Regions from separate parts of the Homo sapiens genome. Here region 2 is linked to region 1. The links are contacts of gene promoters, found by promoter capture Hi-C in blood cells and fetal thymus (Javierre and others, 2016). All regions are on one chromosome and are shown on one strand. The core of a region is centred on a gene start or on the middle of the fragment in contact, and the rest is flanking DNA. Distances in the headings are between cores, read along the strand shown.

Evidence for each region. The method cuts DNA at HindIII sites, captures the fragments that hold promoters and counts their contacts. A CHiCAGO score of 5 or more calls a contact.
Region 2: a contact is called between a fragment that was not itself captured here and the fragment with the promoter of RAB24 in region 1, in 1 of 17 cell types (M1 macrophages). The highest score is 5.5, in M1 macrophages.

The regions. Positions count from the first base shown.
Region 1 is chr5:177,298,094-177,304,968 of GRCh38, forward strand. It overlaps RAB24 (RAB24, member RAS oncogene family), which reads right to left and starts at 5,626. Exons shown (of 8, transcript NM_001031677.4): 1 at 5,079-5,626; 2 at 4,916-4,984; 3 at 4,659-4,737; 4 at 4,484-4,551; 5 at 4,304-4,403; 6 at 4,035-4,085; 7 at 3,832-3,894; 8 at 3,105-3,714. The coding sequence starts at 5,195. The coding sequence ends at 3,650. It overlaps PRELID1 (PRELI domain containing 1), which reads left to right and starts at 5,706. Exons shown (of 5, transcript NM_013237.4): 1 at 5,706-5,984; 2 at 6,532-6,757. The coding sequence starts at 5,893. NSD1 (nuclear receptor binding SET domain protein 1) reads left to right here. Exons shown (of 23, transcript NM_022455.5): 23 at 1-2,120. RefSeq lists enhancers at 3,317-4,516, 5,681-6,558, 6,197-6,296, 6,407-6,456, 6,477-6,536 and 4 more and silencers at 2,294-2,487, 5,517-5,586, 5,637-5,716, 5,827-5,966. The HindIII fragment of the contact is 8,255 bases long and covers 1-6,495 here.
Region 2 is chr5:177,037,684-177,044,558 of GRCh38, forward strand. It overlaps ZNF346 (zinc finger protein 346), which reads left to right. Exons shown (of 7, transcript NM_012279.4): 2 at 3,443-3,546; 3 at 4,095-4,187; 4 at 6,706-6,850. Among named protein-coding and RNA genes, the nearest start is that of ZNF346, 18 kb to the left of the region's middle. RefSeq lists a silencer at 1,007-1,056. The HindIII fragment of the contact is 4,706 bases long and covers 1,700-6,405 here.

The DNA.
Region 1 (6,875 bases), core at 4,376-6,875:
GTCACAACAACTGTTGGGAAATGTGACTCTTGGAGGAAGGTGGGGAGGGAGTGGCCTTGCCAGCCCTGTGGGACGTCCCCTGAAGTTTGTAATAAGACCCCTTTTCCAAAGGGATGTGAATTGGAGTGAAAAGGAAATCTTTCATCTTAGAAAACTTCTGGTCCTTAACGCAGGGTGGTATTTGGGTATGTGCTTGGAAATTGAGATCTCAAGAGTGTTTGCCTTGGAGCCAGCTCCCCAGGAGGCCTTTTCCAGGGACAAGGCAAAAGTTGAAATTCTCCATGGGTAGCTAGAAAGCCAATACATCTAGCCCTGCTAAGTCAGAAAAAGATTATGAAAAATGTTGAAATTTACATTCAAAGCCTCATTTGCTTATCTTGCTGGAGCCAACCCAGTCTAATAGCAAAATAGCTGTCATTGATACAGAAACATCCTCATTTTTAAATGTCTGCTTTACCCTGTTACTGAGTTTGAGATGACTTAAATCACTGTGTTGACCCTCTTCTGAACCAAATCTTTAGCATTGATGAAAATAGTTATTTTATTCTTTACATCCTTCACCCCACACTATGGTCAGGGCATGAAACACCCTGTTGATCCCTTCCCAGGCTCGGCACTGTCTGCTCACTGGAGCCGGACTCCCAGGTTGTAATTCTAATGTTGCCTCATGAGAACAGAATGGCAGAAAGTTTAGTCCTGACAGATTCCCCCATAGGGAGTAATGAGGACAGCATGAAACTTGGATAGGTTTTACCCTTAGTCCCTATAAGGTGGATTTTACTAAGGTTTTTTAAATGATACTGTCATCCTCTTGGGGTTTATCAGCCAGGTTAGAGGAGCCCAGTGTCCTAACCTCTCTCAGATCATGGCAGAGAAGGAGCTGCCTCCAGCCCCTTTCTTGCTGAGTTTCATTTGAGCAGTTCCATGTGTAGACATTCCAAGTCACTGCTTGGTAGTTGCTGTGGGAGCCTGTCATTGGCTATGGCCAGTTAGTTCTCAGCTGAGCTTCCTAGGGCCAGTGCAACAGGGCCAGAGGCTGCTATAGTGTAAATTGAAATAAGAATAGATCATTGTTTTGTACACACACACAATAAAATGTAATGATGGTGCTAATTTCACGGTATAAATAAGCACTGCCAAGGGTTGAGGGACTGGCAGCTCAAGAAACCCGGGTTCCTGTTTGGGAGGAGATTTTATGTAGAAAAGTTTGAGGCTTTGTTAAAAGTGGGGAGAAGGAAGATCCTCAGTGAAGCCTGCACCCAACCCTGGAGTGGCCCAGTGCAATCCAGAGGTGGAAGAGATCCTATATCCAGGTGAAGGTGGCCATTGAGTTTCTCAGGGCTGGGGCCACCTTGTCCATAGCCTCCGTCCACGCTGCCTGGAGCAGGTTGTTAGAGAGCTCTGGTTGTTGGGTCTTCCTCAGCTCCCTTCTGCCCCTCTCTACCTCTTCCACTCATGGAAGCCCCTCTACTGCTTATGAAGATTAAGGGTAGTATTTTCTAAGGAAGTGGAAAGAATTAAACTAGAAATCCACAACCTCGGAAGAAGTGTTTCGAGTTTAACATGCGCTGTTTCTGCTTATGTGGTTCCTTCTCTAGAGCTGCTTTCCCATGGCTTTCAAAACATCAGGTTATTGTGGGGCTTCAGGTGTAAGGTCCTGGAAGTTCAGCAAAGTTTCGTGGACAAGACATGGGCACAGAGAGTAGAAGCAGAAATAAATGGTTCTATGTTTTCAACTTCCAGGGTTGGGGCAGGCCAGAGCAAGGCGGTCTCATCGAGGTGGGTGCTACCTGTGTGTGTGTAGATGAGTGTGCTGAAGGTGGGGAGGGCAGCACACAGCAGCTCATGGCAGAGCCGCCTCCTAGGTCTTGGCAAAGAGGCAAGCTGACGATAGACATCTACCTATATTGTTAAGAAAGGGGTCGGGGGGATCAGCCAAGGTCCATCATTGCTTTTTTGCCGCGCCCCCCCCCCCCCGCCCCCATAGATTGTCAGCTGTAAGTGAAACTCCTAGTGAAAAAGAGGGGAGCCCTGTGTTAGGAGTCCCCATAAACATGTACTGTAATTCTTTGTATATAGAAAAAAAATTTACTGTAAAGTAAAGTTTAACTTTACTCATATATGGCCCTTGCCCTGTGTTTTGTTTTATTGGCTGTGGGGAGTTGTAGTCTAACAGGAGGGAGGATTGTTTGGGGTGAGAGCAGAAGCCAGCCCCAGAGATAGTACGAGGTGGGGGGCGGGGGGCGCAGGGATACTGTGAAGCTAAGCCCTTCCTCCAAGCACGTCATGGGAATAGTGTGTTTCCTCTCAGCAGCCACAGGGCTGCCCAAGCCTCTTTCTCCCTCTGTTGGGAGTGGCTGGTTTCAGTTTCAGTCTCCCTCCACAGGAAGCCCCCATCACTCATGAAGGAAGGGCAGTTTGAGGAATTGGTTTTTAAAAAGGAAGTGGAACCAAAGCACTCTCTGAGTGTGAGTCTGACCATGTTGGCTAAGTTGTACATTTTTCCAAGGCAGGTGTTGGCCACTGCAGAGGACTCAGCCCAGGCCTAAATAAAGGCAGGAAAGCAGAGGCAAAGGATAAAACTAAGGGAAAGCCCCTGGCCTGGGGCCACACCCTCCATACCAGAAAGGGCTGCAATAAATTTCCTTCTGGTTGAGCAGCAAGTGTCAGCCCTGTTTACAGTTAACACCTGATTCCTCAGAAATATCTGGATCTTCTTTGGGGAAAACTTGGGAGTTTGCTTCCCTTTGTGACCTAGTCCTGAACTTCCTGCCCTTTCAGCAAAAAGTGCTTGGGAAGATTGGGAAAAACATTTAGTACTAGAGTTACTCTTCACTTTCTTCACAATCCTTGGGCTGCATAGTAGTCACCTTATTTTACAGATGAGAAACTCAAGATGAGGATTTAAGTCCCTTTTCTAAATTAGCAGCTGAATTGGAACCAAATCTGGATCCATTAGACCTTTCTGGCTTACAGAACTTAGGACTTTCCTACCATTAAACCACATTGTAGGATGTCACTGGGAAGCTCAGGACCTGAGTCACAGGTCTGACATAGGGGCCCAAACATGACAGATGCAGTAGAGCTAGTCAGACCAACCTGTCTCAGGTAGGAATGCTTGACCCTTTTATTTCGAAGCAACTCATGCACTCTTTTCAGCACTCAGAAGGAACTGTGAGCTTTTATACTACTACAGCCCCAGTATCTCAGCGGTAACCATGGGGAAAAAAGTCTTGTTTTCCAAAGGAAAATGAGAGTTGGGAGGAGCCTTAATATAAGCAGTGAGGCCAGCCGGGTGGCCCCAGGAAGAACTAGGTGTCTTGACACCTAATCCACACAGCAGGGAAAGGGGCTGGGTGTGATGCACAGTGCACTGATTTTATTTACAGATCAAAAGCCACTTAAATAATCTGCAGACACAAGTGCTGTCCAGGGCAGAAGCCTGGGGTCCAAATCAGCCTTATCCCTCCTCATGCCCACAGTCAGCCCAATGCTGTCTCCGTTCCATGGGCCAGCACAGGCAGGCGCCACTCTGCTGACATGAGGACCTGGGGTAGCTCAGACATTTGACTACCCAAGCCCAGAAAGGAGCTGGGTCCAGCCCTTACGGGGAATTCCTTTAATTCCCCCAGGCCAGGTGAGTGCTGACTCAGTGATGACAACAGCTGTAGAAGTAGGGGTTTGGCTTCTGGCCCAGATCCACGCCCTTGTCCTCTGTCAAAAAGAGAGGTGGCAGCTCAGCACCATTCTGTTGGGATCAGGTAACTCAGGAAAGGGGCTAGATGCTGTGGGCCTAGAGTAAGTCTCCATAAAGGCTGGGGAAGCACACACCTGTCATCACCTGGAAGGCAGCCACACTGACGTAATCCTCTGCCACTTTCTGGAAGAGCTCGTCTGGCAGGAAAAATGATGATCAGCGAGGGCCCAATGCCAGTAGCCCTGGGATCTCCCAGTGACCCAGCCCTCTGTGCCCTATTCAGCTTCCTCTGGTGCCCCTGCATGTTCCTGCTGTGAGGCTCCAGCACAGCACTCACCCACACTCTGGCCTGTCTTGCTGGATGTTTCAAAGAGCTGAGCTTTGATATCTGTAAAGAGAAGTGACTAAAGCCTCATACCTGAGAATTAGATAAACAGACAAAAGGGAGGGCTAGCAGTTCAGGGAGTCTCCTGGACCCCACAGTTCAAGGAGGCCAGGAAGACCTCCTAGAGCACCTTGCCCTGGCAGCCAAGGCAGTCCCTATTTTCTTTGATCCACCCAGACAGCCACACACCCCCACCCCCCAAAGGGCTGAGGAGCAGCTACTGTCTGCATAGTCCTGGACGTCGTGGAAGTCCACACGTCGACGCCTCCGGTCTTCTTCCAGCAGGTCACTCTTGGTGCCACATAAGTAGATTTGGCAGCCCTGAGGCAGAAGACAAGGGTCACCTCCACAGGCCAACAAAACCCCAGCCCCTAGTGTTCTAGTGAGGTCTGTTCACCTACCTCCTCTAGGCTGCGCAGTTCCTTCACCCAGAACTTTGCTCGCTCAAAGCTGCTGCTGTCTGTGAGGTCTTGGTGTGCGGCATGCAGGAGACAACCAAGTGGTCAAGGGCTGTTCTCTGGCTAGCCTGGCACCCATCTTTTCTTGTGAGACAGCCCAAACCCCCCCCCCCCTTACCATAGCAGACGATGGCAGCCTTGGCACCCCGATAGTAGATTCTACTCATGGCCTCATAGCGCTCAGAGCCTGCTGTGTCCTAAAGAGTAAGGCCTGAGTCAAACTTAAGGCCACGTTCTCCAGACCCCGCTATTTTCCAGATAAGGAAACGGGTCTATGAGAAATGGGTCTGTGAGGCCACAAATCAACCAGTAATAGGCAGGACCTACACCTCCTCAGGAATGAGTCTCCCAAGAATAGATGGCCGGGGGACTTACCCAAATACCTAATGTCACAGTCCGGTCTCCGACCGACATCACCTTGGCCACGAAGGCGGCCCCGATGGTCTGCAACGAGAGGGAAGAGATCGGGGCCATAGGTGCAGATTACCGGCCCCCCACTCCCCCGCCCACCGTGCCTGGCCCCTCCGGATGCACTCACGTTCTGATAAGGCCCCACCAGAAAGCGGTCGTGCACGTAGCGCTCCACCAGGCTAGTCTTGCCCACGTACTCCTTGCCCAGCATCACCACCTTGACGTCCACGCGCTGCCCGCTCATGCTCCCGGGGCCGCTTCAGCCACGTCAGGGTCCTGAGCGGGGACGGGAGGCAAACCCCGATCTCCGCTCGGCCCAGGCAGCGCCCAAGCCTCAGACCCCGACCCCAAACGGCGCCAACCTACGACTCCAGACAGCGCGTCGGGCTCGAGCTCTGGCCGTGGCCTTGCACTTCGGCAGCGCCCCGTGTGCCCCCGCTGTTCGGCCCCGGGCGCCGATTATCCTTCGAAGACCCCAAGCCTCGGGGCGGCCTGGGAGCGCGCGGGACAGCGTCCTCAACAGCGCAGCACGCCGCCGTGCAGCTCGCTACTCCGTCATTCGCTCGCCTGCCCGGCTTAAGCTCCGTTCTGGCTGGGAATCCCAACCGAACCTGGGGTCTCCCGCAACCCGGCTCCTACCCGCAGCGCCGCGACTCCCGCGGGAGGGGGCTAGAGGGCGAGGGGGCGGGGCCGCAAGGTCACGTGGCGCGGGCGCCGGAAGCGGTGGCTACTGTGTGGCTGCGCCGGAAGTGGCGCGCGGCCGGACAACTCATGGCGGCGGCGGCGGCGGCGGCAGCTGCTTGGGCGCGGTGCGGTGGTGACTGAGCTACGAGCCTGGCGGCGGGTGTGCGCCGAGCCCCGGCCCGGCCCGGCCCTCGCGTGCCTCCCAGGCTCCGCACCCCTGATGCTGCGCGGGTGCTGAGCCCGCTTCGGCCGGGACGATGGTGAAGTATTTCCTGGGCCAGAGCGTGCTCCGGAGTTCCTGGGACCAAGTGTTCGCCGCCTTCTGGCAGCGGTACCCGAATCCCTATAGGTACGTGGTATTTGGAAGAGCAAAACCGCGCCATCTCGCTATCTGGAGATCGAATTATGGGTAACCCCCAAGTACTGGGACCAGGAAGGACTCGATATCGAATCCTAGGTAGACCTTATCGGGGAAGCGGCCAGGCCAGGCCTGCAAGGTCCTGAAGGGAGGTTGGGCCTGGGTGGTGGTTTACTTGAGACCTTAGTGTAAGATTCTTTTCTCAGTGTGGTGAGACAAGAAGAGGCGGCAGTATGGGAGTTGGGAGGGATCTTGGAGTTGGAAATCCTATTTCTCTGCCCGTGGCGCTTTCCTGGGGTGCAATAAATCATGAGGTCCATTCCTGCTAGAAGGCAGGAATCCAGGTCAGTCAGATGGCGGGAGTGGGAATTTGCCCTGGGATGGGCCCTTAACTCTGGTTTGAACCATAGCACATACCACCCTGCAAGGTTACGGGAAGGCGTGGCCTCTCTAGGCCCGGAGCCTCCAAATGGGAATCCCCTCGGGCAGTCTCTTAGGGGCAAGCTTCTGAGGGTCACCTTCACCCTGACACCTGCAGCAAACATGTCTTGACGGAAGACATAGTACACCGGGAGGTGACCCCTGACCAGAAACTGCTGTCCCGGCGACTCCTGACCAAGACCAACAGGATGCCACGCTGGGCCGAGCGACTATTTCCTGCCAATGTTGCTCACTCGGTGTACGTCCTGGAGGACTCTATTGTGGACCCACAGAATCAGACCATGACTACCTTCACCTGGAACATCAACCACGCCCGGCTGATGGTGAGACACCTCCTGTTGTGATTCTGCACCTCCCCCTCTCCCCTCCCCCCGAGATAGAGAGCTCCTCAGATACATGTGGCTAGAGAGCCATAAGGCAGCTTTTGTGGCCGGAGGCAGG
Region 2 (6,875 bases), core at 2,803-5,302, 260 kb before region 1:
ATCTATTCTCTGAAGACTACAGCAGCCTTCTCCTTGTTCTTTCTGCTTCCATTCTTGTCCCCATACAGTCTGTTGACAACAACTGTCAGAGTAATCTTTTCAAGGGCAAACCAGATCTTGTCACCTCTCATTACACTAACAATAAAATCCGTAGTTCATACTGTGGCTTATGGAGCCTTATATTCATTCAACATCATCTACTAGGCCTCATGCTGTCTCTCCAACTTAATTTCCTACCATTCTTCTCTCATTCACCATATTCCAGGCATAGTGGGCTTCTCTCCATTCTTTGAACATGGAATATGCCAAACTCATCCCTGCCTCACAGACTTAATACTGTTTCAGGTTGGAACACTCTTTTCCTGTAAGCCTTGTGGCTGACACTTCCCCATGATGATTTTTTTTTTTTTTTTTAAATTTTCAGAGTCAAAGTCTTTCTCTGTTGCCTAGGCTGGAGTGCAGTGGCACATTCACGGCTCACTGAAGCTTCAAACTTCTAGGCTCAAGGGATTCTCCCACCTCAGCCTCCTGAATAGCTAAGACTACAGGCATGCGCCACCATGCCCAACTACGTTTTTTTTTTTTGTGTGTGTGTGTTTTTTAATTTTTGTAGAGATGTGGCTCTCCCTGTGTTGCCCAGGACAGTCTGAAACTTCTGGGCTGAAGCAATCCTCTTGCCTCAGCCTGTTGAGTTTCTGGGATTATAGGTGTGAGCCACCACAACCGGCCCTGTGATGGTCTTTACTAACTCTCCTGCCCCGTCATTCTCTACCCCGTACTCTGCTTGTTTTCATAGCATTTCTAATTCTCTGTCATTGTCTTGCTTATTTTTTACTTTATACCCCATCTTCTTTGTTGGTATGGCCCCCAGCACTAAGTGCAGTGTTGACACAAAGCACGTATTATAAATATATTTGTGTGGACTATGTGAATGTACTCTCTAAGGCCAGAGAGTGCATTCCAGCAGAGAGGTACATTTATTTAGCAGGTGCTTACCTGCCCTTGCTGTGGGTTTGGGAGTCTGATTCTGAATATGCTTGAAACCTCATCTCTTGAACAAAACAAAATCCACAATCTCCAGGTGAGGAAGTGATGACTGAACTCTGACCCCTGGGTATTACCTTCCCCATGTGGGTTTCTTATTGTGAGAAGCCTCTGACCCTCTTTTTTTTCTTCTTTTTTCTTCTTCTTCTTGTGTGTGTGTGTGTGTGTGTGTGTGTGTGTGTGTGTGTCCGAGTTTTGCTGTTGCTCAGGCTGGAGTGCAATGGCACAATCTCGGCTCACTGCAACCTCTGCCTCCCAGGTTCAAGTGATTGTCCTGCCTCTGTCTCCCAAGTAGCAGGGATTACAGGCATGCTTCACCACACCCGGCTAGTTTTGTATTTTTAGTAGAGATGGGGTTTTACCATGTTGGCCAGGCTGGTCTCAAACTCCTGACCTCAGATGATCCACCCACCTTGGCCTCCCAAAGTGCTAAGATTACAGGCATTACCAATCGTGCCTGGCCACCTCTGACCCTCTTTTAAAAGTTCTGGGCCAATTTTGTTTATAGAGTCATTTCTCTTGGTTTTTCAGAGCATAGCTAAGACAGGCAAGGTCTTTCACAAAAATTTACCATTTAAAAGAAAAATGCAGAAATAAAAAGAGATCATTAGGGGCAGAAATACAGCCCTTCTGCCTAAAAGGGCTGACATAGGTAAGCTTTAGATTTTGTGGATTAAGGAGAGACATCTTAAAAGCTCCCCACCAAGAACCTCTTCCAGGGCATCGACTTTTTTTTTTTTAAGACAGGGGCTTGCTCTGTTATCCAGGCTGGAGTACAGTGGCACTAACATGGCTTGCCATAGCCTTGACCTCCTGAGCTCAAGCAATCCTTCTGTCTCTGTCTCAGCCTTAGCCTCCCATGAAGCTGGAACCACAGGCATGTGCCACCACCCCCGGCTAGTTTTTGGTTTGTTGGTGTGTTTGTTTCTATGTAGAGACAGAGTCTCACCATCTTGCCCAGGCTGGTCTCAAACTCCTGGGCTCAACCCATCCTCCCACCTCAGCCTCCCAAAATGCTGGGATTACAGGTGTGAGCCACTGTGCCTAGCCTTGACCACTTTTTGGCTGAGACCAGGAGATTAAAAATGTGGGCCTGCCCTCCTCTCCCAGTTTTAGACTCTGCCTCTGCCTCTGCCTCACATTGCCAGCGCCATGATAGAACTCATGCCTTGGCCGGGCGCGGTGGCTCACGCCTGTAATCCCAGCACTTTGGAAGGCCAAGGTGGGTGGATCACGAGGTCAGGAGATCGAGACCATCCTGGCTAACACGATGAAACCCCGTCTCTACTAAAAATACAAAAAAATTAGTTGGGCGTGGTGGTGGGTGCCTGTAATCCCAACTACTCGGGAGGCTGAGGCAGGAGAATGGTGTGAACTTGGGAGGCGGAGCTTGCAGTGAGCCGACATCATGCCACTGCACTCCAGCCTGGGTGACAGAGCGAGACTCCCTCTCAAAAAAAAAAAAAACAAACAAAAATGAACTTATGCCTTGGGAGAGATTTTACCTCCTCTTCTCTTCTCAAAAAGGTAAGACTGTTCTCCAGGCACAATAATTTAAGCACAGGTTAATACCATGTTTCATATAGTGTGGCACTTATATAATACGTTATGTGATTTTATTTTATTTATTTATTTAGAGACAGAGTCTAGCTCTGTCACCCAAGTTGGAGTTAGTGGCACAACCTCAGCTCACTACAACCTCTGCCTCCTGGGTTCAAACAATTCTCCTGCCTCAGCCTCCCGAGTAGCTGGGATTATAGGTGCCTGCCACCACACCTGGCTAATTTTTGTATTTTTAGTAGAGACAGGGTTTCACCATGTTGGCCAGGCTGGTCTCGAACTCCTGATCTCAGGTGATCTGCCCACCTCGGCCTCCCAAAGTGCTAGGATTACAGGCGTGAGCCACCACGCCCCACCCTGTTATGTGATTTTAAATGTTTCAAAGTCAGATCAAGAACAATGAGAAAAGTATTCCTTTTTCGAGTCTTTCAGTCCTCCTGATTCTATCTGGGAAGAAGTTTCAGTTGGGTGCTACCATATCTTAAAACCTCTCAGCACAGTTGCTGTTCTCTTCTTCCTGGGGAATGCTCCAAGCCTCATTTTTATCATATTTATTTTTATTGGTATCTGCTTAAGTTTATGATCTAAAGATTCCTTTTTAAAAGAAGTTCCTAAGTAAAGAAAGTTGGCATACATAAAATTATAAAATAAGTAATAGTGTAGGTGGTGTGAGAACACAGCATGAGTCACGGTGGCAGTAGGAAAGGCTGGCTGAGGTCTGCCAGTGTCCTAGTATGGCATCCCATCATTCAGTGCCTGTGTTTGAGGCAGGGTTCAAAGGCAGTGCTGTTGAGGTAGTGTTTGTCAACTCAATGATTTCTTGTTTTCCCCTCTATAGTGGAGCACATGATCCAGAAGAACCAATGTCTCTTCACCAACACCCAGTGTAAGGTTTGCTGCGCCTTGCTTATTTCTGAGTCCCAGAAGCTGGCACATTACCAGGTATGCCATCATACTTTTAGAACTGCGTTTCTTTTCAGACCTGGTGCCAAACCACTAATTCTCTCTGGCTTGCATGGTGAAGTGTAATTGCTGCTTAGCCACCCAGATGTTGCCTCCATGCATGTTGGCTTGTGACTTGAAGATTGACTTAATCTCCTTGAGTCTCATCTCCCCCATCCAAATCAGGATCATTATATGTGTATCTTCCCTTGCAGCTTGGCATAGCATAAAGTATGAGCTTTGGCTTTAAATAGATCTGACTTTAAATCAAAACTCTGCTACTCATCTTGAGCAAGAAACTTCATCATTTTTAGATGTAGTTTCCTCATCCATAAAATAGAAATGGTCATAATTTTCTCATAGATTGTGAAGATTAAATTTGGTAGCTGTAAAATGCCTTGCACAGAGCAGGAACTCAAACTTCCCTCACCTCCTCCTCAAAACTTTTTGTGAGGATGAATCAGATGAAAATCTCATAAGTGTTTTTGAGTGCCTTAAGTATGAAGTAGCATTTGGCTATCTTTGATCTTTCTCCTGGGTTTTTGCAGAGCAAAAAACATGCCAACAAAGTGAAGAGATACCTAGCAATCCATGGAATGGAGACATTAAAGGGGGAAACGAAGAAGCTAGACTCAGATCAGGTAATACAGCTGCCATATTGAGCCCACTTGCTTCATGATGAAGCCAGCCAGCAGGTTGGTGTGGTGAACAAGTCAGACTGTCTTGGCTTCAAATCCTGGCCCTGTTGTGTGACTCGGGCAAGTCTATTACTTCACAAAGCCTTGATTTCTTCCTCTATAAAAATGAGGATGGTAATATCAACTACCTTTCAGGATTTTTTAGAACTAAAATTGAGGGCAGATTTATAAAAAGCACCCAATTCAGAGCCTGGCACATAGTAGGGACTCAGTAATGGAGCTGGTATTACATATTACCGCCTAGTGGTTTGTTAGAGCAAGACAAGAGAAAATGGAAAGAAGCCAGGCTGCTTGCTTTCTTGAGGGCCAAGGAAAAGAACTAAGTTCAGCACTTGAATGTTTTGCATAAATAAGCAGAAGGAACACCTTTCCAAATGTCTGCTGTGATTGAGAGGTGATCACATGTGCTTTTTGGCTCAGAAATAATATGAGCATTATGCTGAAGCAACCCCCAATCCCTCAGGAGTACCATCTCATCATGGGAAGAGAAGTTAAGCAGACTAGGGCTCAAAGCTGGCTGTGTGTCTTACTGATCGGGTGAGTTTGGCCAAGTCACTTAACCTCTGTGAACTTCCCCCATAAAGTAGAGATAATGCCTACTTCTTAAGGGTATTGTGAGGTAAAATTTCAATTCCTAGTAGATGCTCAATAAATAAGAGTTTACTCTATAGACTGCTACCTCCTATTATAGTAGCCACAGGTCAGGAAGGTCCTTGTTTATCTCTTCTCAAAATTTACTGGACTCATCCCCTGGTTTCCCTTATTATTTATTTATTTATCCCTGGTTTCCCTCCTTTCTATTTCTCTATCTGTCTATTTGTGAGACAGGACCTGGCTCTGTTACCCAGGCTGGAGTGCAGTGGTGCAGTCACGGCTCACTGCAGCCTCAACCTCCCAAGCTCAAGTGATCCTCCCACTTCAACCTCCCAAGTAGCTAGGACTACAGGCACACACCACCACGCCTGGCTAACTGGAGTGCAGTGGCACGATCTCAGCTCACTGCAACCTCCACCTCCTGGGTTCAGGCGATTCCCCTGCCTCAGCCTCTGAAGTAGCTGGGACTACAGGCACGCGCCACCACACCCAGCTAATTTTTGTATTTTTAGTAGAGATAGGGTTTCACCAGGTTGGCCAGGCTGGTCTCAAACCTCTGATCTCAAGTGATCTGCCTGCCTCAGCCTCCCAAAGTGCTGGGATTACAAGTGTGAGCCACTGCGCCCAGCCGCCTGGCTGATTTTTTAAAAAATTTTTCGTAGAGACAGGGTCTCGCTTTGTTGCCCAGGCTGGTCTCAAATTCCTGGTCTCAAGTGATCCTCCCACCTCAGGCTCCCAAAGTACCAGGATTACAGGTATGAGCCACCACACCTGGCCCTTTTCTCACAATTTATAATTCAGAAAGGCAAGATAAACTCTATGACCCTGGGCAAGTTATTTTACATATTTGCACCCTATTCAGAGATCAGGCTTTCTGAGAGAGATGCTGGGATCCCTTTATGTAGTCTTGAAATACATGGTTTCCTAGCCTAATCATAATCAACAAGTAGAACGCAATGGGAGGCTGGGTGCGGTGGCTCATACCTGTAATCCTAGCAATTTAGGTGGCTGAGGCAGGCGGATTGCTTGAGCTTGGGAATTCGAGACCACCCTAGGCAATATGGTGAAACCCCGTCTCTATAAAAAATACAAAAATTAGCCGGGTGTGGTGGCATATTCCTGTAGTCTGGCTACTTGCAGGGGTGGGTGGGAGAATTGCTTGAGCCCTGGAGGTGGAGGTTGCAGTGAGCCGAGATCGTGCCACTGCACTCCAGCCTGGGCAACAGAGTGAGACCCTGTCTTAAAAAAAAAAAACCTAATGGTCCACTTGTTCAGCAAACTCTGAGCATCTACTGTGTGCCAGACTCCAGCTGGGTGTGAAGGATAAGAAACAAAAATGAGTCAAATAGTCCGTGTTCCAATGTCACACTTGAGTTCACAGAAAAGTCTCCTAAGCTATGACACTGTCAGTTTAGGGTGGCAAGTGGTATGACAGAGGTCTATTTAATGTACTCTGGGAGCACAGAAGAGGAGCAGGGTTAATTCTTCCTGGAATACACAAAGGGACTTGACAGTTGTTTACTGAATGATGTTTTTTTTTTTTTGAGAGAAAGTCCCCCAGAGGAAAAGCTTATATTTAAATTGGGTCTTGAAGGCTAAGCAGACACGCTGCCAAGCAGGAAAGGAAGGAAGCACATTTTAGACAGCAGGAATGGCCAAAGCAAAGCAAGGAAGCATCAGAGAATAAAGTGGGGGATGGTGAGTAGAGTCTGGGACAAAGTAGCTGGAGAAGAATCTAGAAAGTAGGTTGGGGTTAATGTGTGAGGGGGGCCATAAATGCCTGTTCTGTTATGGGCAGTGGGGAACCATTGAAGATTTTCTGGTGGGGCAGTGGTATGATCAGACCTGTGTTCTTTCTTCCAACCAGAAGAGCAGCAGAAGCAAAGACAAGAACCAGTGCTGCCCCATCTGTAACATGACCTTTTCCTCCCCTGTCGTGGCCCAGTCGCACTACCTGGGGAAGACCCACGCAAAGAACTTAAAGCTGAAGCAGCAGTCCACTAAGGTGGAAGGTACTGGTTTTCCTGAGTAGTGCTA